Linked DNA regions of Homo sapiens: all the other regions are linked to region 1. Evidence: promoter capture Hi-C in 16 types of primary human blood cells and fetal thymus (Javierre and others, 2016). All regions are on one chromosome and are shown on one strand. The core of a region is centred on a gene start or on the middle of the fragment in contact, and the rest is flanking DNA. Distances in the headings are between cores, read along the strand shown. Region 1 holds the start of RPS25 (ribosomal protein S25). Region 2 holds the start of TTC36 (tetratricopeptide repeat domain 36). Region 3 overlaps ARCN1 (archain 1 coat protein complex I subunit delta). Region 4 overlaps ARCN1 (archain 1 coat protein complex I subunit delta). Region 5 overlaps LOC105369519 (a long non-coding RNA gene). Region 6 holds the start of RNF26 (ring finger protein 26). Region 7 overlaps MCAM (melanoma cell adhesion molecule).

Region 1 (2,890 bases), core at 241-2,740:
TTTAAAGGTCATTTAGTTAAACTGGCTTTCTTTAAATATGAAGAAACTAAGGCTCAGAGAAGAGAAGTTGACTTTAAGTAAGATGACACCTCGGCCGGGCGCGGTGGCTCACTCCTGTAATCCCAGCACTTTGGGAAGCCGAGGCAGGTGGATCACCTGAGGTCAGGAGTTTGAGACCAGCCTGGCCAACATGGCAAAACCCCTCTCTACTAAAAATACAAAAATTAGCTGGTCGTGGTGGCACGCGCCTGTAATCCCAGCTACTCGGGAGGCTGAGGCAGGAGAATCGCTTGAACCTGGGAGGCAGAGGCTGCAGTGAGCCGAGATCCCGCCACTGCGCTCCAGCCTGGGTAACTCCGCGGCCCCTCCCCACCCAGCAAAAAAAGATGACACCACTGCCGTTATTACCTAAAATCTAGATCTGGATCGGTTGCGTTTTTCATAACACCAGAACGACGATTTAAGAAAAGGTAGACAAATTACAAGCGCTGCCGTTCAGGAGACGGGGGACTTACGAGTGGAACATGGAGGCCAGCATAAGCTTCTCATTAGAAGTGAGGCGGGGCCGGCCAAATCGAATGGACACCGGGTAATTAGCAGGGTTACCCAGATACTCCAGCACCTCTTTCCCGTCGGCCGTGTACCTGCCATTCACGTCCATGCCATTGATGGCCAGCACTGCATGACCCACTGCAGAGGTGAAGCTAACGGTCAGCGAAGGTGCAGCCCGGGGATTCCGCCGAGGGGACAAGGGACCCGACACAACCCCTTTTCCCCCAACCCCGCACCTACAACCAGCCCACTTCTACAGCACTGGGGCCCTCCCACCCCCGCACCCGCCACGGGCCCGAGCCTAGCCCACCTCGGATGCCGTCCCGCTGGCCGAAAGCAACCAACACACGCTCATCGTGTAGCTTGAGCAGCAGATCCAGCGGATAACTGAAAGTTTTCTCAGCCTCAGCCCGTGGCGCGTAGCTGTCCAACTGGTAAATCAAGCCGCCAGCTTTGTTCACCACATACACACTAAAAATCGCCATCGCTGCCTTGCCGCTCGGAAACTGGTATTCAGCCTCTACCCGACGGCCCCTCCCCGGAACCGCATCACAGCACTTGCCGCCGGCCCCACCCCAGCCTCCTCCTCCTCCTCCTCCTCCTCCCGCGCCCCCCGTGCAGCCACCTGCTGCACTTGCGCACTGGGAGCGACACGCTCGGGCATAAGTAGTGCCGGAAAGTTAGCTGCCGAGACCTGGTGGATTGCTTTTCGTTTATCAGTGCAGGAAAACAGCGCTATAGTATGCGTCACAACTAGCGCAGACTCCGGCAGTATTTAGGCGGTGCGGCTTGGGAACTAGAATCCACTTCCTGTCTTCCGCCTCAGGCTAGAGGGCGAGCGCTTCGCCGTGGGACTTCTTCTGCCTGGCTCCGCCTTTTGCCCCGGAAGTACTCACAGCGGACGGTGGTTTTTGGGCCCGTTTCTGAGCAGCGCTTCCTTTTTGTCCGACATCTTGACGAGGCTGCGGTGTCTGCTGCTATTCTCCGAGCTTCGCAATGGTAAGCTTCAGGGGTGTGAAGTCGCCGGCGTTCTTGGGTTTGAGGACTCAGTGGGGAGAGCCTTCGGCGGGAGCGCTCCTTGGCCTGCCGGCCTCGGTTGCAGGGCGGGCGCGGTTATTGCTTGGCCCATGTGCTCTGGTGGTGGAGTTTGCGGGGGCTGAGGGCGCAGTATTAGGGGACTTTGGCGCTATTTGAGGACCTGGTTGCATTCCCGCTGCCCTCCTACAGCCGCCTAAGGACGACAAGAAGAAGAAGGACGCTGGAAAGTCGGCCAAGAAAGACAAAGACCCAGTGAACAAATCCGGGGGCAAGGCCAAAAAGAAGGTAGAAATAAGACCTCTCTGAAAGAGACTAGGGGTAACTCTCTCGTAATCCTCTAGTAATAGGTAACTTGTATAGTAAGTGGTTTTTCAGGTGTAGATTTCTAGAGTCAAAATGTGAGAGTTTATCTTCCCGTCACCACTCGTTCTTTTTCCCATTAGGATCATGAAAATGGGTCTGTTGTGCGAAGTGTCTGCCGCTGTGCCTGCTGTGTTATTTTTAACTGATCTAGTGGGGCTCGGCCCCTGTTTGAAGGCCAAAAACGTGTCGGTGTTTTTTTTTTGTTTTTGTTTTAGTAATGTGTAATTTATCCTTGATAACGGTGGAACAGATTTCTCTGACGCAGATTACTCGAGAGGGAAAGGGTGCTTCTGCCAGAAATACTAACTTGTTTCTGTTTTGTTTTGGTGAGCAGAAGTGGTCCAAAGGCAAAGTTCGGGACAAGCTCAATAACTTAGTCTTGTTTGACAAAGCTACCTATGATAAACTCTGTAAGGAAGTTCCCAACTATAAACTTATAACCCCAGCTGTGGTCTCTGAGAGACTGAAGATTCGAGGCTCCCTGGCCAGGGCAGCCCTTCAGGAGCTCCTTAGTAAAGGTGAGGGGTGTATCCTACATGTGTGTTTTTGTAGGTTAAATTGTCTTGACCATGTTAAGCATCTTCAGTGGTTTTGCTGGAAAAGCAGAATTAAAAAAAAAAAGCGTGGCTTGACCATTGGCTGTTAGTAATGTAATTCTGACGTCTTACTCCTGATCCTGAGATGAATTCTCAGGGTTCTTAGCCACTTTTGTGCCGTGGACCCTGTGGCAGTTTAGTGAAGCCCAAGGATCTTTTATGTTTCGAGTAAATGGATGCATAGAATTACAGGGACAACCGTTTTTGAAATAATTAGATTACTATTTTGAAACAACTTTGAAAATGTTTAAAACCTTTATGGTAAATATTTTGTTGATGTATTAAATTTTAAAACCAGAAATTTAGTACGGTCTACTCAGTAGTATGGTCTGATTACCATA
Region 2 (2,890 bases), core at 1-2,500, 490 kb after region 1:
AGGCAGATGGCTTGGCCAAACCTCTCCAGGGCTGTGCTGAGGTCCCCAGCCTCTGCTGCCATCACCCCCTGCAGCTCCAGGGCCTTGGACTGTTCCAGCTGTGCTTGAGGGAAAACTTCATCTGGGCCAGGGAAGGAGCCAGGAGAAGCCAGGTGTGCAGTTGGTAGCAAGAAGAAAAAGCCACCTCAGGCTTTGGAATTCTGAGATCTGAGCCAGAGCTGACTGGGTATGGGTCACAGCAGGGGTCAGTTGCAGTGTTTGGGGTAGGGGGAGATGAGGTCACTAAGGCTGGGAGCTAGCATTGCCTGAGTTCCAAGAGACCTGGGAAGGGGCCTTGGTTGGTTCCCCATTGCCAAGAGAATGAAGCCCAGACTCCTCAATCTGTTAAAGAAGTTGCTCAAGTTCTTTGTGTATGGCCTCAACAGGCCATACGTTGCAGAGCTTGGATTTGAACCCAGGTCATTCTGGCTCCTGTCTGCATTTTACTCTACTACACCGCCTCTTATGCAAAGGCCACCATGACATTCCCAGATCATGAACATCACTTCTGACGTATCCCTCTGTGTTTCGGCCTGAGTTAGTAAGGTGTAGGCTTTACTCCTCTAGAAACAAAGGATCAAAAACTCCTTCATTAGGGATTAATGGAAAAGCCAGTGAACGCACTCACTGCGGAAGAGTTAGTTTGGAGCTTGGCTTGTGACAGTGTTTAACGGTTACTGGTTGTGCTTGCTATATTGGAACCACTCAACTGAGCAACCATGCCCTGCCTTATTTCAGTCTTCTGTTCTGGTGGTGGTATTCTCTGTTATGACAAAAATGTGAGAGTTTAACATCACCTGGCAGTTAAGCTTGGATCATACAGTCAATTAAGTGGTAAGTTCAGAGGCATGAGAGCTGATGGATCGAGAGACAAACCCCAGCTTACTCCTCTTGGCAGGACATCTCTTACCAAACCCCCATCAGTGCGCTAAGGAGCAGCCAACCTCTCTGATTCCAATCTCAATCATAATCATGGAACAAGGGGCCTTATAAAACCACCTCCCTCTCTGCTACCTCGGGAGGCCAGCAGGCCAGCCTATGTGCAGAGCTACACTCCAGATCAAATGCCCACCTTCTTCTCGTTCTTCCTTTTCTGCTTCCTCTCCGAGGTCCAATCCAACAATGTCTCCAAATGGGGTGTCAGGGTTGAAGATGGCCTGCAGCACTGCCTGATCATTTGGAGTCCCCATGGTGCTCAACTCCAAAATCCCAAAAGGTGACTCCAGATGAGAGAAGAGGGAGGGACGTGGTGAGGGTGGAGCCTCCAGCAGGAAGTTGATCTGAAAGGATGAGGACCACCCCTTCGTGAGGAGTGTCTCCCTGTCCATGGCTGTAGCATTTGCTCAACCTGTGGCCTGGAGGGTTGACCCTGGCTTGGCAGACTACTTGGTTATTTCTCAACTGCCCCTGCCCCCAGGAGAAACAGTAAACAAATCCAGCTTCAGCCTTAAGGTGGAGTGCAGCTAGAGAAGGTGTTCTCCAGCTTCTCCCTGAAATGCTTTCAGTTTATTATATTCACAGTTGAGAAAACCGATAAAAATCAATACTTAACCTCCTTGGATGAAACAGGGGAGCTATGTAGAAGGTAAAGGCCCTGTTCCTTTGTCCTCTTGACCCTGCCTCATATCCACAATTAATTAGGTCCTGAACATACATCACTGATGAATAAAGGAAGAAAATAGTCAAGAGAGCCAGTGTGGAGTGGACCTGAAGGTGGGCTACAGGGAATAATTTAGTGATGCCACCTTAAAGTAAAGGACTGTGGAAGGTACTTTGTGACCAGGTCACAGGCCATGCCCCTCCCGCTTTTCTCCACCCTCTCCAACCAAAGCCAAAAGGAAGCTTAACCATGTGCAGCAATAAACTTGACATGTTTATTAATTAAACTATCACTTAAATAAAAAAAAGTGCATAGAAAATAAACATGTTTAAAAACTCCTTTTTTTTACAACTATGTACACTTTTTACTTTTACATTCAGTCTTTCGTAGAGAGCTTTCAGCATTATTATTTTTTGAACTATTAAAGTATTTTCCTTCATCCCTGTCACAGGGAGTTAACACTGATGGACTTTAGACACATTTTCCTTTTTTTTTTTTCTCTTTTTCTCTAACCAGAAGCTTGGAAGAACACAAGGAAAAAAAACAGATCTGTTATACATGATAAAGTTGTCAAAAAATGTCTTATTTCTAGAAAAGAAGCTTGTCATCTGTTGAGCTCTTGAAACAATTATTCAACTACCTGTATTTACTAAAGAGACTGTTAAAAGTTCAATAAAAGAAACACCACAATTCTATTTTCTTGGTTGAAAGACAGAACTAGAGTACCTCGGAACAAGATACCAGGAAAGCACAGAACACAATTTTCCCCTAAATGCAGGTGGTAACCCCAACATTCATAACCAAAAATAGAGAAACAAGGAGGACAGGTACTGACTGGCAACATTCATGGGCAGAAAAAAATCCAGGTGACACCATGTCTGCATTTTTCTCTGATCCGAGGAATGGACTGTTCTACCATTCCTTTATGGTTAGAGGTTCCCCCCATTTCGGGAATCAGAGGAAAGTGAGCCTGACATCTTCCTGCCGCTACTAGCAACTGTAACACAATCCTTATCTATAGTGTTAAGAGAATTAAAAGCCATGGACTGAACTAGGCTTTGTTACATGGTGCATTACTATATTAGTTCCTATATATATCATATTTATATTTATTTGAAAACCAAAACAAACAAAAAGTTGCAAGTTTCCAGAGTGTGTGACTTGACTAGTATTCATGATTCGGCACAAAACCATCTGCTCCATAACCTTGTATTGCTTTAAAATGAAGGAAATGAAACATAAAATTACACC
Region 3 (2,890 bases), core at 248-2,747, 440 kb after region 1:
TCTCATGCCTCAGCCTCCTGAGTAACTGGGACTACAGGCACAGGCCAGCACCACCAAGCCTGGCTAATTTTTCTATTTTTAATAGAGACAGGGTTTTGCCATGTTGGGCAGGCTGGTCTCCAACTCCTGGCCTCAAGTCATCTGCGCGCCTTGGCCTCCAAAGTGTTGGGATTACAGGAGTGAGCCACTGCACCTGGCCCATCCACTTTACTGATGAGCATGTTCAAAAACTAATTATAGGTACTGGTAATCTCCATTTTTGCGATATTATAAGAATTAACTGAGTAATTATTTATCGAACATCTACTATACATACAACATGCTTTCTGAGAATTAAGATGACACAGGCTAGCATTCTGCCTACAAGAAGCTTAATAGGGATAAGACACAAACACAAATAACTGTAATATGAGGCAGAATGTGTTAAGTAACATGAGAGAGTAACCGATAAAGTGCGTGGAAATTCAGAGGAAGAGATTACTTCCAGCTGGTACAGTCAGGGATGACTTGATAGAAGAAACAGCATTTAGGCCGGGAGCGGTGGCTCATGCCTTAATCCAGCACTTTGGGAGCCAGGGCAGGCAGATCACCTGAGGTCAGGAGTTCGAGACCAGCCTGGTCAACATGGGAAAACCCTGTCTCTACCAAAAAATACAAAAAATTAGCCAAGTCTGGTGGTGCACGTCTGTAGTCCCAGCTACGGGGAGAGTGAGGTGGGAGGATTGCTTGAACCTGGGAGGCGGAAGTTGCAGTAAGCCAAGATCATACCACTTCACTCCAGCCTGGGCTACAAAGTGAGACTCTGCCTCAAAAAAAAAAAAGAAAGAAAGAAAGAAAGAAACAGAATTTAGATCATGCTTTGATGAATTCCAGGATTTGTTTGTTTTGAAACAGAGTCTTGCTCTATTGCCCAAGCTGTAGTGCAGTGGCGTGATCTTGGCTCAGTGCAGCCTCAACCTTCTGGGCTCAGGTGATTCTCCCACCTCAGCCTCCCAAGTATCTGGGACTACAGGCACAGGCCACCACACCTGGCTAATTTTTTGTATTTTTCTGTAGAGACAGGGTTTTGCCATGTTGCCCAGGCTGGTCTCAAACTCCCAACCTCAAGTGATCTGCCCGCCTGAGCCTCCCAAAGTGCTGGGATTACAGGCATGAGCCGCCACACCTGGCCAGAATTCCAGGCTTTCAGTACGTCAAGATGAAGAAAGAAGTAGGGTAAAATCATATGTCTCTCTTTGAGTCATTCCATTATCCAGATACAAGCAAAACAAGGCTTCCAAAATAGGACCATAGTTCCCCATACTAAGTATAGCATAAATCTCCGAACACCCAGGACACCACAAATTACAGGTTCCAGGCAGTTGACACAGGTCTCTCTGTTACAGCTACTAATATGGCTAGAAGGTATGGTCACCTCTAAACATGATAAATTTATCCTATCCTAAATTAACATTTGTCTTCTTAAAGTTCTTGAAATAATAAACCTCTTTACATTAATGTTTACTGGTTTAACAATTATTAAAATATAGCATATACTAAAAGGTAAGTTAACAATTTTCCCTATTGAAATTTGATCTGATTTTCTCTGAGGAAGAATTAATAAATATGATTACAAAGTTTTTGGTTTTTTTTTTTTTTTTTTTTTTTAACATTTTTGGAAAAAACATTCCAGATCTAAAAGGAACTTGCAAGAGCCCTTGATTGTCTTACAGATGTGAAAACTGAGGGCCCATAAGTTAGATGATCTCTCCAGGACGGTTAAAAAAAAAAAAAATTCCCTCATAAAGTTGAGCTTTGCCAAACAACTTTTAATAATTCTTACATGGTTTGAGTACACTATCTTTGGACTAAATAACAACTCTCTCCTACACAGACTTAACTACATGAATTGTTAAGTGCCTCAAGTAAAAAAACCTGGAGAATTAGGTTTCTGTTCTGCCTTTGCCACTAATTATGTGACCTTGGATAAGTCACTTAATTGATTATTGAAATATCCCTAACATAGGAGGTTAGTTTACATGAAATCCAAAGTGCTCTGTGTCTTTAAAGTTCTGTAAGTCTAAGCATTTGAAAACTACAGTAACAGAAAAAAAAAAAAACAACTACAGTGACAGAAAATGTACAATACTTCCATTTTATACCCACTGCTCCAGTTCTAACCACTTTGGAACAATATTTTATAGTAACATTAGGCTGCCAGAAGGCAAATTGTCTAACCATAACAAATTGTGTGTGCAAGAGAGATACAAGAATAACAGGTGGTATAATAATTCAGGATAAATATGCACAACTCTCTCTCAAAAAAAGTCAAGTTCTTTCTTGAATCTCTAAATGCTTCAGGATCCCTTACTTCCAGAATTATAGTCACCTTCTCCTTTGTAATTCACCGCAATATTTTATACACATATACATGCACACACAATTCATGGTCATATTAAGGCTAGTTTCTATAATTGTCAGGGAGGACTGTTCTGTCTTTTCTATTTATATGAAGCTATTATAGATAAAATCAGAGAGAAGATTACAATAAAATGTAGACCACATACGAAACCTAAAACTTGAAAAGTAATTTACTCAGTGAGGGTTTTAAGTCCATCACATTTCTATTCTAAAACAAAAGCTTGCAGAGAATTAAAACACACACACACACACACACACACACCCGTTATCAGTTTCTGCAGTGAACTTCTATATGAAGACATAAATAGATGGCAAATCAATGGAAACTCAAGAGAATCATTTTCTTTCTTTGCTGTCCCTCAAAACACAATTAAAAAGATACATAAATAATACAGGGGCCGGGCGCCATGGCTCACACCTATAATCCCAGCACTTTGGGAGGCCGAGGCGGGCAGATCACGAGGTGAGGAGATCGAGACTATCCTGGCTA
Region 4 (2,890 bases), core at 286-2,785, 420 kb after region 1:
GAAGGACAGGCCCTGAAAGGAAAACAACTTGGCAAAGAGATGAAGGAATGAATTGATACGGGAAAAGAACAGAAGACATGCGTATCTTTTAACTTCTAGACCCCATACCCCTCAAATAGTTCACCTGAATAGTCCAAAAATCAAGAATGGGTTAGATATACTTGTTCCAGGAGTGCCAAATAAATATAATGCCTGTAAACAGATGATCCCAGTGCCTGACTGAATGTATAGAAAGAAAAACCTAAAGGTAAAGGGTATGAATGATTAAAATTTTCTACAGAGAAAACTTTTTAAAAACAAACTAAGTATGAAATATAACTATATTTAGGGATTATATTTAGGGATTAAAATAAAGGAGCAGCTGGGCATGGTGGCTCATGCCTGTAATCCCAACACTTTGGGAGGCTGAGGTGGGCGGATTGCCTGAGCTCAGGAGTTCGCGACCAGCCTGGGCAACACGGTGAAACCCCGTCTCTACTAAAATACAAAAAATTAGCCAGGCGTGGTGGCGTGCACCTGTAGTCCCAGCTACTCGGAGGCTGAGGCAGGAGACTTGCTTGAACCCAGGAGGCGGAGGTTGCAGTGAGCTGAGATCATGCCATTGCATTCCAGCCTGGGTTACAAAGTGAGACTCCATCTCAAAAAATAATAATAATAATAATAATAATAATAAAATAAAAATAAAGGAGCAACTTAGGTAAAGGTAGAGGAGGTATTTAACTGGGGGCATTCTCTGGAGAGCTTGCTTTCCTGCTGGCCAATACAATCTGCCAAAGAAAATTAGCAGCCTTTCCCTTTATGTTTGTGCCATTTCCTTATCAAAGAATGTCTCTGTGACACTGAAACATGGGGGTGAGTCGAGGGTCCTTGCGCGCAGAGAATCGTGCATTGTATCAGAAAAAAGGGGTCTCCAGTGGCTTGTAAATCTGGGAAAAACTCTTCAGCCATCATTGGCGTCTTCTTTATTAATCTGAAAATTTTCCTTTTCAGCTCCCTCTTCTTGGTATTACAGAATTTCATACTTATCCACTAGGAAAGTGGTCTCTGTGGAAAACCTGACGGGGCTGTTTCCATCTACCTGGGTCACTTTGGTAACCTAGGAAAATAAACAAAGAGTAAGGTAAAGCAGGAGGTTTGAGTCTCCATCATGTTGACTACATTCTCATTACAGAACATATCAATTTCCCTAAAAGCGGTATTAAAAGTAACTGTAAAATACTAGAAAAATGTTCAATTCACAACTGAAAGTCACAGCATCACTCTTCCCCACCAAAATGATTAAGCTGCTTTTCTTCTAGATGGAGAAAAGACAACTGTTGGGACGAGATGTTCCGTAGTATTAAGTAAAAGCTCCAAAATGAGTGGCCACAGCCCAGCCCTGCCCTGTATAACCTATGAAATTCATAGACATTCTATCAGGATGATATATTAACATTCTGACCCAAAAGGCAACGTTCTAGCTCTTCACATTATTCATTTGCTCTGCTCTCAAAGTCTCGTGTTAAAAGTCCCAGTAAGCTGCTCTATCATACTTATTTTTTAGGCATGGCTGGTCCAATGAGGTTTTTCCTTTTTAAATAAATAAATGTCCAGCTTAATTAATTACATGTAACAATGGTACCTATAACGGCACCAATACAACACTTGAACCACTGATTCGTATTTTCTAATGAAGTTTTGGGAGAGCAATTATAATGTCCTAATCTTTGAATAGCCCCAATAGGAAAATTTACCCATTTCTATCTAATGTCTTGAGTTCAATACAGTTGCTTCCAACACTGATGGGGTTATGTCACTAACAGGATAGGGAGAGAGAACTGCTCTTTGGAATCATTCAAGGGAGGAAGCTGCAATTTTCTAAGCATTTACAGGGGAGACGGAGACCATATGGGAAGCTAAGGTAGGGCCAGAACAACAAGCAAGTCAAAAAGAGGGGAATATTAATAATATAAACTGGGTCCTAGTAATGCAAATTAAAAAACTGGAAGAACAGCCAGACGTGGAAGCTCACTCCTGTAATCCCAGCACTTTGGGAAGCCGAGGTGGGCGGATCATCTGAGGTCAGGAGTTAGAGACCAGCCTGGCCAACATGGTGAAACCCCATCTCTACTAAAAATACAAAAAAAAATTAGCTGGGTGTGGCAGTACACGCCTGTAGTCCCAGCTACTTGGGAGGCTGAGGCAGGAGAATCACTTGAACCTGGGAGGCAGAGGCTGCAGTGAGCTGAGATCGCACTGCACTCCAGCCTTGGTGACAGAGCAAGACTCCGTCTCAAAACAACAACAACAATAAAAACTGGAAGAATGATGAGTTAAAAAATAATGATCCGGGCCGAGCGCGGTGACTCGCGCCTGTAATCCTAGCACTTTGGGAGGCCGAGGTGGCTGGATCACGAGGTCAAGAGTTTGAGACCAGCCTGGCCAACATGGTGAAATACCGTCTTTACTAAAAATACAAAAATCAGACAGGCGTGGTGGCGCATGCCGGTAGTCCCAGCTACTCAGGAGGATGAGGCAGGAGAATCGCTTGAACCTGGGAGGCAGAGGTTGCAGTGAACCAACATCACGCCATTGCACTCCAGCCTGGGCAACAAGAGTGAAACTCCGTCTTAAAAAAAAAAAAAATCCGCCAGGCGTGGTAGTTCACGCCTGTAATCTCAGCACTTTGGGAGGCTGAGGTGGGCGGATCACCTCAGGTCAGGATTTCGAGACCAGCCTGACCGATATGGTGAAACCCTGTCTCTACTAAAAATACAAAAATTAGCCAGGCATGGTGGCAGGCGCATGTAATCTCAGCTACTGGGGAGGCTGAGACAGAATTGCTTGAACCCGGGAGGCAGAGGTTGCAGTGGGCCGAGATCATGTCACTGCACTCCAGCCTGGGCAACAG
Region 5 (2,890 bases), core at 391-2,890, 320 kb after region 1:
CTCGAAACTCTGTGGCTTCACATCGTGGAGTGGGAGTTGTCCTCAGCTCCTCATGCCAGGGGTAAAGATTCTTCATTATTCAAAAAAGGTGCCATCTGATTTGCTTCAGAAGTCTAACATTTTGTGAACCCTTTGACACTGCCGTTCCAGGTTCAGGAGTCTGTTGTAAGGAAATAATACTACAGTGCATAAAGACATGAGTACTCAGGCGTTCATTCTCCCCAGCGCTGTCTGTAAGAAAAAAAGGAATAAACTAAAATGTTTATGTTTATTCAGTGCTTAGTGATAAATAATTAAATAAATGTTGACACATCCACATAGTAGAATGCTGTGAGGCCATTAACATTAGAAGGTGGTAGAAAACATAATAACAGCCGTGCACGGTGGCTCGTGCCTGTAAATCCCAGCACTTTGGGAGGCCTAGGCGGGCAGTATCACCTGCAGGTCAGGAGTTCAAGACCAGCCTGGCCAACGTGGCGAAACCCCATCTCTATTAAAAATACAAAAATTAGCCAGGTGTGGTGGTACATGCCTGTAGTCCCAGCTACTCAGGAGGCTGAGGCAGGAGAATCACTTGAACCTGGGAGGCAGAGGTTGCAGTGAGCCAGGATGGGGCCACGGCACTCCAGCCTGGGCCAGCAAAGTGAGACTCCATCTGAAAAAAAAAAAAAAAAAAAAAAACCAAGAAAAGAAAAGATACTGACATGGAAAGGTAAACATGGTATGAATAGACCCAGGGATGGGCCCTGTGGTCCCACTCCCTGGTGTTCACACCCTGTGTAACCTCCTCCCCTGGAGCGCCGGTAGGACCTGCAACTTACTTCCAGCTAATAGACTGTGAAAAAGGTGAGGGGGTTTTGCAGACATAATTAGGGTCCTAAGTCAGTTGATTTTGAAGTCAAGGGGGCATTTTCATGGGTGGGCCTGACTAAATCAGGTGGAAGTCTTTGAAAGAGTGTCTGGGCCCTCTCAGAGGGTCAGAGACTCTCCGTCTATTACTGGCTTTGAAGAAGTAAGCTTCTCTGTGGTGACAGGGCCACTCAACAAGGAACTACTGTAGTCTCTAGTTGCTAAGGGCCATCCCTGGCTGACAGCCAACAAGAAAACATGAACCCCAGTTCTAGTCTTACAACCATAAGGAGAAGAATTCTGCCAACAGTCTGAGGGAGCTTGGGGGCCAATATTAAGCCTTAGATGAGACCAGCTGAGCCTCAGATGAGACCATAGCCCCAGCCAGCACCCGGACAGCAGCCTGGTAAAGCTCTGAAGCGGAGAACCTAGGTGAGCTGGGCCCAAATTTCTGCCCTCAGAAAAAGATGTGTGTTGTTTTAAGTTCCTTATCATGTGAAAAACAAAGAGCAGGTTATGAAATAATGTGTAGCAAAATCCCATTTTTGACTTGGAAAATGGGATCTTGACACATACTTAGGAAAAAACCTGAAACAAATACCAAAACACAGATGTTATATAAGGACTACAAAGGTATTATAAAATAGGATTAGAAAGTCTAGATACTTCAGGAATTAAAAGCATAAGAAAAGAGTAAAATACTATGACTAGGTACCATGGTTTGAATGTTGTCCTCTCTGCAATTTACATTGAAACTTCATCCCCACTGTGTCAGTGTTTTTTTTTATTTATTTATTTTATTTATTTATTTTTTGAGATGGAGTATTGCTCTGTCGCCAGGCTGGAGTGCAGTGGCGAGATCTCGGCTCACCACAACCTCTGCCTCCTGGGCTCAAGTGCTTCTCCTGCCTCAGCCTCTCCAGTAGCTGGGACTACAGGCGCATGCCACCACACCGGGCTAATTTTTTGTATTTTTAGTAGAGACGTGTTTTCACCATGTTAGCCAGGATGGTCTGGATCTCCTGACCTCATGATCCGCCCGCCGCGGCCTCCCAAAGTGCTGGGATTACAAGCATGAGCCACTGCACCAGGCCTAATTTAATTAATTTTCAAGTAAACTAATTAAGTGAAGATACAAAGTTGCAGAGAAAGAACATCTAGATTAGGCTGAGGCTGGGCACCTAACAGTTAATACCCTTTCATTTGTAATTGACATAGAAATATATTTAAATTGGCTTAAACAACAAGAAGCAGTTACTGCTCGTGTTACTGAAAATGAATGTGGTTGAATTCAGGTGGGAAACGATGCAGCTTTCAACCAGGCTTCAGGATCTGCTCCCTTTAAATCTCAGCTCTGCTCTTCTCCATGCTAGCTTCATTCCCAGGCTCTTTCTCTAACTAAAATGTAAGCTTAGGCCAGGCATGGTGGCTCATGCGGGAGGATCGCTTGAAGTCAGGAGTTCAAAACCAGCCTGGGAAACATAGTGAGACCCTGTCGCTATAAAATAAAATGTAAATGTATTGCTATTTTTATTTTATTTTTTTAATATGGAACACTTCATGAATTTGCACATCATCTTTGTGCTGGGGCCGTGCTAATCTTCTCTGTATTGTTCCAGTTTTAGCATATGTGCTGTGAACCAAGCACTGTGAATGTAAATAAAATAAAATAAAATATCACTATCATGAGGATAGTGACTTTCTCTTTTTTGTTCACTATTTAATCCCCAACACTTAAAATCGTATTTTTATTACTGCACATCATAAGCACCAAAAAAATTTCCAGGAAAAAAAGGAGGGGGCCAGGAGTGGTGGCTTATCCCTATAATCTCAACACTTTGGGCAGGAGGAGCTCTTGAGCCCAGGAGTTCAAGACCGCCCTGGGCAACAAAGTGAGACACTGCCTCTACAAAAATAAAAATTAAAAAAGAAAGAAAAGAGGAAAAGAAGGCGGAGGTATAGCAGCACAACAATTCTGGAGCAGAATAAATAAGACTATGTTAAATACATTTTAGAGAAACCGAATAACACTGAAGACAAA
Region 6 (2,890 bases), core at 103-2,602, 320 kb before region 1:
CCTCAGGGTGAAGTCCGGATGCAACACAGTCACCGTCACTGCCAGCACACAAGCTAGCAACACCAAGCCAGTGAGATTGACAAGCACAAAGCTGGCCAGGAGGCGGGCAGCTGAGGCCAGCAGCTCCAGGGCTAGTTGGCAGGGTGTCCAAAGGAGGATGGCCATGGCCACAGCACTGCTGGAAATGTGGGCTAGGAAGGCAGCCACTACGTCCGTCATCCTCCACAGAGGCCCGGTCACTGCATCCCACAGGGCCAGCACCAGGGAAAAGAGGTTCTGAGTGCCGATGAGGCAGATGTTGACCAGGCTGTTGATCACATAAGCCACCAGGCTCATGGCAATGGCACAGATGTCACAGGCCTGGCGCAGCAAAGCATGGCCACTGGAGACCACATTGAGGACGCCCCGGTGCAGTATCTCCCTGCTCCGCAGTGCCCCATGAGAGGCCAGGTGCCCCAGGAGCTTTAGGCTCTCTAGGCCAGAGCAGCAGCTATACAGCAGAGTACACAAGGCCTGCAAGCCCCCACATGTGAACCGGACCACGGCTTCGATCAAGGCCAGCAATGAAAGCAAGACTCCGCGGCCCAAGTGCAGAAGACTAGTCAGTACCGTGTGCGGCAGGTTGTAGACGAAGGCCAGGAGCCAGGCCAGGGAAGCCAGGAGGGAGGACACCAGCAGGAAGTTGAGGTCCAACACCAAGGTCAGCACGTCCAGCACCAGGCCCAACCCATTCACTACCAGGTACACTGCCTCCATGATAGGGCTATGGAAGTTAGTCCAAAACAAAGTCTGGCTCCTCGGTTGGGGGGTTGTCAAGGTTGTCAATATTTTAGGGGGTCTGGGATTAATTTGGAAGGAAAATGAGCAGTCTCCAACCCAGGGGGTACCAAGAATCTGAGGAAGAAGTGGGTAAGACGGAAGTGGAGTCTTGGTAGAGGGAAAGGTGGCCAGGTGCCAGTCCAAGAGTCCAGGTTTTGAAGATGGGCTGTTTGGGAGGGAAGAGGCCAAACATCTCTAAAGCGAAGGCGAGCCCAGGCCGTAGGAGCGACCTCAGCTTTGGATGCCTGGTGTGGCGAACCACGGCCGGGCAACGGGTCAGACCGGGAGGAGACGAGGAACGGATGGAATGGGATCGGATCGGATCGGGTCGCGTCGGGTCGGGCCGGGGCCGGGTGGGGTCGATGTAAGCTGGGCGCAGGCTCTCAGTCCAGCTACGCAGGTGCCCCTGTCCCCGCCCGGCCCCCGTCTTCCCGCTAGCGGCGCTTTGCACCCAAAAGGGGAGTGGGAGAGGCAGCCAGCTTCAGCAAACCCCAAGCGCAGCCCCTACTCCGCTGGGCGCCGCCATCTTGTGTGCAAAGGGGTGGAGCCAGAGGCGTGACGAGGAGGGAGGGACGACAAACTCCAGCCAATCGGTGAAGGCCAACCACAAAAACGTCGATCACTCATTGGTCCGTTTGAATGGCGCCCGAACGTATTTACTTTCCAAAGGGAAGGAGAGGCGACAGATTAAATCCCCTCCCCCTTTAGGCGGGGATTGGTTCGTTGGCGGGCAGCGTCGAAATACGCTCTCCTAGCCCCACCCTCTAAAAGAGCAGGGTCTTGGACTCCCCTCAATTTGGGAGCTGTTCTTTCTCCCGGCCTCTGAACGCGAGGTTTTTTTTTTGGCTTGGGTCGGAGGTCACTGCCTCTGGGCTGGGCTTTGGAATAGCACCGCCTTCGCAGCCTGCCCAGATCCGTCTCCTCATTCTCTTCTATTTATTCATCTATTCTATCATTTATTGAACTCCTACAGTGCATTGAGGATACAAAAAAATTTTAAGACAGTGCCTGCTGTTCACAAGGGAAAGCAGATTATTACAGGGGATTCCCAAACTGCTATTCCAAACTTTCCTCACCAGGTTTTTCAACATCTCGGAAGATTACTTCATTGTCATTGAGAAAAAGGGGCTACAGATTTAGAAACCGCTCAGCTTCCTACCCTGGGCCTTCCTACCCTAGAGTGCAGTGGCGCGATCTCGGCTCACTGCAACCTCTGCCTCCCGGGTTCAAGCGATTCTCCTGCCTCAGCCTCCCGGGTAGTACAGGTGCCCACCACCTCACCCGGCTAATTTTTGTATTTTTAGTAGAGACGAGGTTTCACCATGTTGGCCAGGCTGGCCTCGAACTCCTGAACCTCGTGATCCACCCGCCTCGGCCTCCCAAAGTGCTGAGATTACAGGCGTGAGCCACCAAGCCCGGCCCTGCCCTTTTCTTTAATACTCAAACAATAGTCAAAATATATTTGAAACCCCATCCCAAATATATTGGGAATCCTGGCGTTTTCTACTAACTCCAAGGATGCTTAGCAGACTCCTAGTGGACTTATCTTTCCCCTGGTCACCTTTGCTGAATTTCCTACTTGAGTTGAATTCTCCATCTCCACTCCTGGGCTCCTGAAAGTGTCCGTCCTCCTTCAGTCTGCCCTGAACACTGCCTCAGAGTCCTTCATTCTCCAAAGCATCACTGATAAGAAGCTGAGGTGTGCAGCAAACCTTTACTGAGGCCTTGGGATCGTGGTAGGGGTACGCTATAGTGCAGAGGAAGGACTGCAGTCGCTGAAACTCCTCTGGCTTCTTCCTACCCTTTCTCTCTCCCTGCTCTCAGGCCCTGGCCAGGTTATGGTTTGTTGTGTTGTGATGTGTTGCTGATGTTTTTATTTTCCTACTCGCATCCTCCCGCCAGTGTCAAATCTTGGAGAATGTGCCCACCTCCCTTTCAAGACAGTTGATCCCATCGCCCGTACCATCTCCTCTTAAGGGATCTTATTTGTCCAGTGAACACTATGTTGTTATTAATCAATCTTCCTCCAGCACTTGACACCACTTCCTCCACCCTTGGCCTCAGAATCATT
Region 7 (2,890 bases), core at 391-2,890, 290 kb before region 1:
TCCCCTTCCTCCCTGCCCAGGGGTCCACATTCAGTCGTCCCAGACTGTGGAGTCGAGTGGTTTGTACACCTTGCAGAGTATTCTGAAGGCACAGCTGGTTAAAGAAGACAAAGATGCCCAGTTTTACTGTGAGCTCAACTACCGGCTGCCCAGTGGGAACCACATGAAGGAGTCCAGGGAAGTCACCGTCCCTGTTTTCTGTGAGTACTAACCTGACTCTCTGCTTACTGGGGCTGGGGCTGCTGGAAACTCCTGCTGGCTCCCCCTTATCCAGCCCAGGGTTGACTCATGGGCCAAGAGCTACCCCCTTTGCCTATGCAGACCCGACAGAAAAAGTGTGGCTGGAAGTGGAGCCCGTGGGAATGCTGAAGGAAGGGGACCGCGTGGAAATCAGGTGTTTGGCTGATGGCAACCCTCCACCACACTTCAGCATCAGCAAGCAGGTGTGGGGGCTTTGTGCTGGGTGCAGGTGGGGATGCAAGCAGAGACCCAGGTGGAGTGGCGGGAGGTGCACTCTGCTCACCTCCCCAATCCTCCCTAGAACCCCAGCACCAGGGAGGCAGAGGAAGAGACAACCAACGACAACGGGGTCCTGGTGCTGGAGCCTGCCCGGAAGGAACACAGTGGGCGCTATGAATGTCAGGGCCTGGACTTGGACACCATGATATCGCTGCTGAGTGAACCACAGGAACTACTGGTGAACTGTGAGGGGCTGGGGACCCAGGACAGGGGGACCAGGCTGGGGCAATAGGGAACTGGCCCCACCCTGCCCTGGGTGACATGATTGCTGTACCCCCAGATGTGTCTGACGTCCGAGTGAGTCCCGCAGCCCCTGAGAGACAGGAAGGCAGCAGCCTCACCCTGACCTGTGAGGCAGAGAGTAGCCAGGACCTCGAGTTCCAGTGGCTGAGAGAAGAGGTACCCAGGCGGGTCTGGGGCAAGGGGCTGATGGGGTGGGTGGGGCTGGCGGTGACAAGAATGTGCTCTTTCCCAGACCCTCTGACCCATCTCTCATCCCAGACAGGCCAGGTGCTGGAAAGGGGGCCTGTGCTTCAGTTGCATGACCTGAAACGGGAGGCAGGAGGCGGCTATCGCTGCGTGGCGTCTGTGCCCAGCATACCCGGCCTGAACCGCACACAGCTGGTCAACGTGGCCATTTTTGGTGAGGCCCTCCCTCTGGGTAGAGACCAGGTCACCCCAAGTGGGGTGGTTTTTAAGCTCTTTGACAAAAAGCCACCTGCTGCCCTGGGGAGCTCTGGTGCGGAGGGGGAGGCAGGCTAGCTGGGCTTGCCACCTCACCTCTCCCTACCTCCCCAAGGCCCCCCTTGGATGGCATTCAAGGAGAGGAAGGTGTGGGTGAAAGAGAATATGGTGTTGAATCTGTCTTGTGAAGCGTCAGGGCACCCCCGGCCCACCATCTCCTGGAACGTCAACGGCACGGTGAGCGGGTGTCTCATCTGCCACACTCTCCTAATCCCTGCCTGCGCTTTGTGGCCAGGACCAGAGATCCTCCCCATCCCCTGAGCTGCCTCCTTCCTTTCCTCGCAGGCAAGTGAACAAGACCAAGATCCACAGCGAGTCCTGAGCACCCTGAATGTCCTCGTGACCCCGGAGCTGTTGGAGACAGGTGTTGAATGCACGGCCTCCAACGACCTGGGCAAAAACACCAGCATCCTCTTCCTGGAGCTGGGTGAGGGCTGCATCCCTGCAGGGGATGGCAGGGGCAGGCCCAGGCACGGGCAGTAACTTGCGCTTCTCCTAACACCCCTCCCTCTGCCTCCTAGTCAATTTAACCACCCTCACACCAGACTCCAACACAACCACTGGCCTCAGCACTTCCACTGCCAGTCCTCATACCAGAGCCAACAGCACCTCCACAGGTAAGCCAGGCCTGGCAAGAGAACAGGGCTGTGCCAGGGCATCCTTTCTGCCCTGTCCCTCCCCAGAGAGCCCTGTCCAGAAAGGTGAGTAGCAGCCCCATCTTGTCGGCCCTGGACTGGCTGGGCCAACGATGGTGACGAAGTGGCCTGGGGCAGGGAGTGACGAGGAGTGTCTTTGTGGCGCAGAGAGAAAGCTGCCGGAGCCGGAGAGCCGGGGCGTGGTCATCGTGGCTGTGATTGTGTGCATCCTGGTCCTGGCGGTGCTGGGCGCTGTCCTCTATTTCCTCTATAAGAAGGGCAAGCTGCCGTGCAGGCGCTCAGGGAAGCAGGAGATGTAAGCCCAACACCGGCCCCTCCGCCCCCGCCCGTTTTGCCACCCAGCCTGCTGCCTGCCCAGCGCCCGCCTGCCCCTTGACAGCAGGAGTGGGGCCCTGGGTCAGGGTGCTGCCTGCTCCACTACCCACTGCCCAGCTTCCATCAGCCACATGGTCTCATGACCTGCTTCCCTGCCCTGGGCTGGCCCTGGAGCAAGGAGCCCTCATCCATTCCACATCCTTCACAGCGGGCCCTTCTCTTCCTGTGGCCCTGAGATACCAACCTCTCACCTCCCTCCCTCCTCCCAGCACGCTACCCCCGTCTCGTAAGAGCGAACTTGTAGTTGAAGTTAAGTCAGATAAGCTCCCAGAAGAGATGGGCCTCCTGCAGGGCAGCAGCGGTGACAAGAGGGCTCCGGGAGACCAGGTAGGAGGCGGTTCCTGTGGCCAGAGCCTGCCACATCCTCAGGGACCGGGGGCAGTAGGGACTAACGGTTCTCTCTATCCTTCATCCCTCTTTGTCAGAGATAGGGAGCAGGCCCCATCTTGCCTTCTTAACACTACTCACAGATGGCAGGGCCAAGCAAGTGGCTGAGGGAGCTTGGAGGAAGACTGAGAAAGACCCTGTCCCATCACCTTTTCCTGACCAATGCCCGTGGCTCTGGGTGTGGCCATTTCACCAGTGCAGTCAGACGG

Evidence for each region. Contacts are between HindIII fragments. The CHiCAGO score rates a contact against its expected background, and 5 or more counts as called.
Region 2: a contact is called between the fragment with the promoter of TTC36 here and the fragment with the promoter of RPS25 in region 1, in 6 of 17 cell types (naive CD4 T cells, naive CD8 T cells, non-activated CD4 T cells and 3 more). The highest score is 9.2, in naive CD4 T cells.
Region 3: a fragment that was not itself captured here is called in contact with the fragment with the promoter of RPS25 in region 1 in 6 of 17 cell types (non-activated CD4 T cells, total CD8 T cells, total CD4 T cells and 3 more); the score reaches 7.9 in non-activated CD4 T cells.
Region 4: a contact is called between a fragment that was not itself captured here and the fragment with the promoter of RPS25 in region 1, in 3 of 17 cell types (naive CD8 T cells, total CD4 T cells and non-activated CD4 T cells). The highest score is 7.4, in naive CD8 T cells.
Region 5: a contact is called between a fragment that was not itself captured here and the fragment with the promoter of RPS25 in region 1, in 7 of 17 cell types (M1 macrophages, non-activated CD4 T cells, naive B cells and 4 more). The highest score is 7.5, in M1 macrophages.
Region 6: the fragment with the promoter of RNF26 here is called in contact with the fragment with the promoter of RPS25 in region 1 in 2 of 17 cell types (fetal thymus and neutrophils); the score reaches 7.8 in fetal thymus.
Region 7: a fragment that was not itself captured here is called in contact with the fragment with the promoter of RPS25 in region 1 in 2 of 17 cell types (fetal thymus and naive CD4 T cells); the score reaches 5.8 in fetal thymus.

What each region holds. Positions count from the first base shown.
Region 1 is chr11:119,016,943-119,019,832 of GRCh38, reverse strand. It overlaps RPS25 (ribosomal protein S25), which reads left to right and starts at 1,490. Exons shown (of 5, transcript NM_001028.3): 1 at 1,490-1,551; 2 at 1,780-1,875; 3 at 2,288-2,471. The coding sequence starts at 1,549. TRAPPC4 (trafficking protein particle complex subunit 4) reads right to left here and starts at 1,067. Exons shown (of 5, transcript NM_016146.6): 1 at 863-1,067; 2 at 516-690. The coding sequence starts at 1,037. RefSeq lists enhancers at 496-1,194, 1,449-1,678, 1,699-1,768 and a silencer at 1,089-1,208. The HindIII fragment of the contact is 1,015 bases long and covers 544-1,558 here.
Region 2 is chr11:118,525,834-118,528,723 of GRCh38, reverse strand. TTC36 (tetratricopeptide repeat domain 36) reads right to left here and starts at 1,250. Exons shown (of 3, transcript NM_001080441.4): 1 at 1,112-1,250; 2 at 1-121. The coding sequence starts at 1,229. It overlaps KMT2A (lysine methyltransferase 2A), which reads right to left. Exons shown (of 36, transcript NM_001197104.2): 36 at 1,892-2,890. The region is part of intron 1 of TTC36-AS1 (TTC36 and KMT2A antisense RNA 1); the gene reads left to right. The HindIII fragment of the contact is 1,033 bases long and covers 851-1,883 here.
Region 3 is chr11:118,575,184-118,578,073 of GRCh38, reverse strand. The region is part of intron 1 of ARCN1 (archain 1 coat protein complex I subunit delta); the gene reads right to left. It also overlaps a transcript of IFT46 not described here. Among named protein-coding and RNA genes, the nearest start is that of ARCN1, 4.2 kb to the right of the region's middle. The HindIII fragment of the contact is 2,250 bases long and covers 373-2,622 here.
Region 4 is chr11:118,598,831-118,601,720 of GRCh38, reverse strand. It overlaps ARCN1 (archain 1 coat protein complex I subunit delta), which reads right to left. Exons shown (of 10, transcript NM_001655.5): 10 at 1-1,096. The coding sequence ends at 1,007. Among named protein-coding and RNA genes, the nearest start is that of PHLDB1, 7.3 kb to the left of the region's middle. The HindIII fragment of the contact is 9,298 bases long and covers 1-2,890 here.
Region 5 is chr11:118,701,949-118,704,838 of GRCh38, reverse strand. It overlaps LOC105369519 (a long non-coding RNA gene), which reads right to left. Exons shown (of 4, transcript XR_007062909.1): 3 at 1-231. It also overlaps the pseudogene RNU6-376P. Among named protein-coding and RNA genes, the nearest start is that of TREH, 24 kb to the right of the region's middle. RefSeq lists an enhancer at 1-125. The HindIII fragment of the contact is 1,242 bases long and covers 1,020-2,261 here.
Region 6 is chr11:119,332,989-119,335,878 of GRCh38, reverse strand. It overlaps RNF26 (ring finger protein 26), which reads right to left and starts at 1,352. Exons shown (of 1, transcript NM_032015.5): 1 at 1-1,352. The coding sequence starts at 756. RefSeq lists an enhancer at 819-1,710. The HindIII fragment of the contact is 9,565 bases long and covers 1-2,890 here.
Region 7 is chr11:119,310,080-119,312,969 of GRCh38, reverse strand. It overlaps MCAM (melanoma cell adhesion molecule), which reads left to right. Exons shown (of 16, transcript NM_006500.3): 6 at 21-200; 7 at 322-443; 8 at 542-704; 9 at 800-918; 10 at 1,021-1,162; 11 at 1,319-1,440; 12 at 1,549-1,690; 13 at 1,785-1,880; 14 at 2,067-2,214; 15 at 2,504-2,621. It overlaps MIR6756 (microRNA 6756), which reads left to right; the gene lies at 1-20. Among named protein-coding and RNA genes, the nearest start is that of MIR6756, 1.5 kb to the left of the region's middle. The HindIII fragment of the contact is 5,572 bases long and covers 1-2,890 here.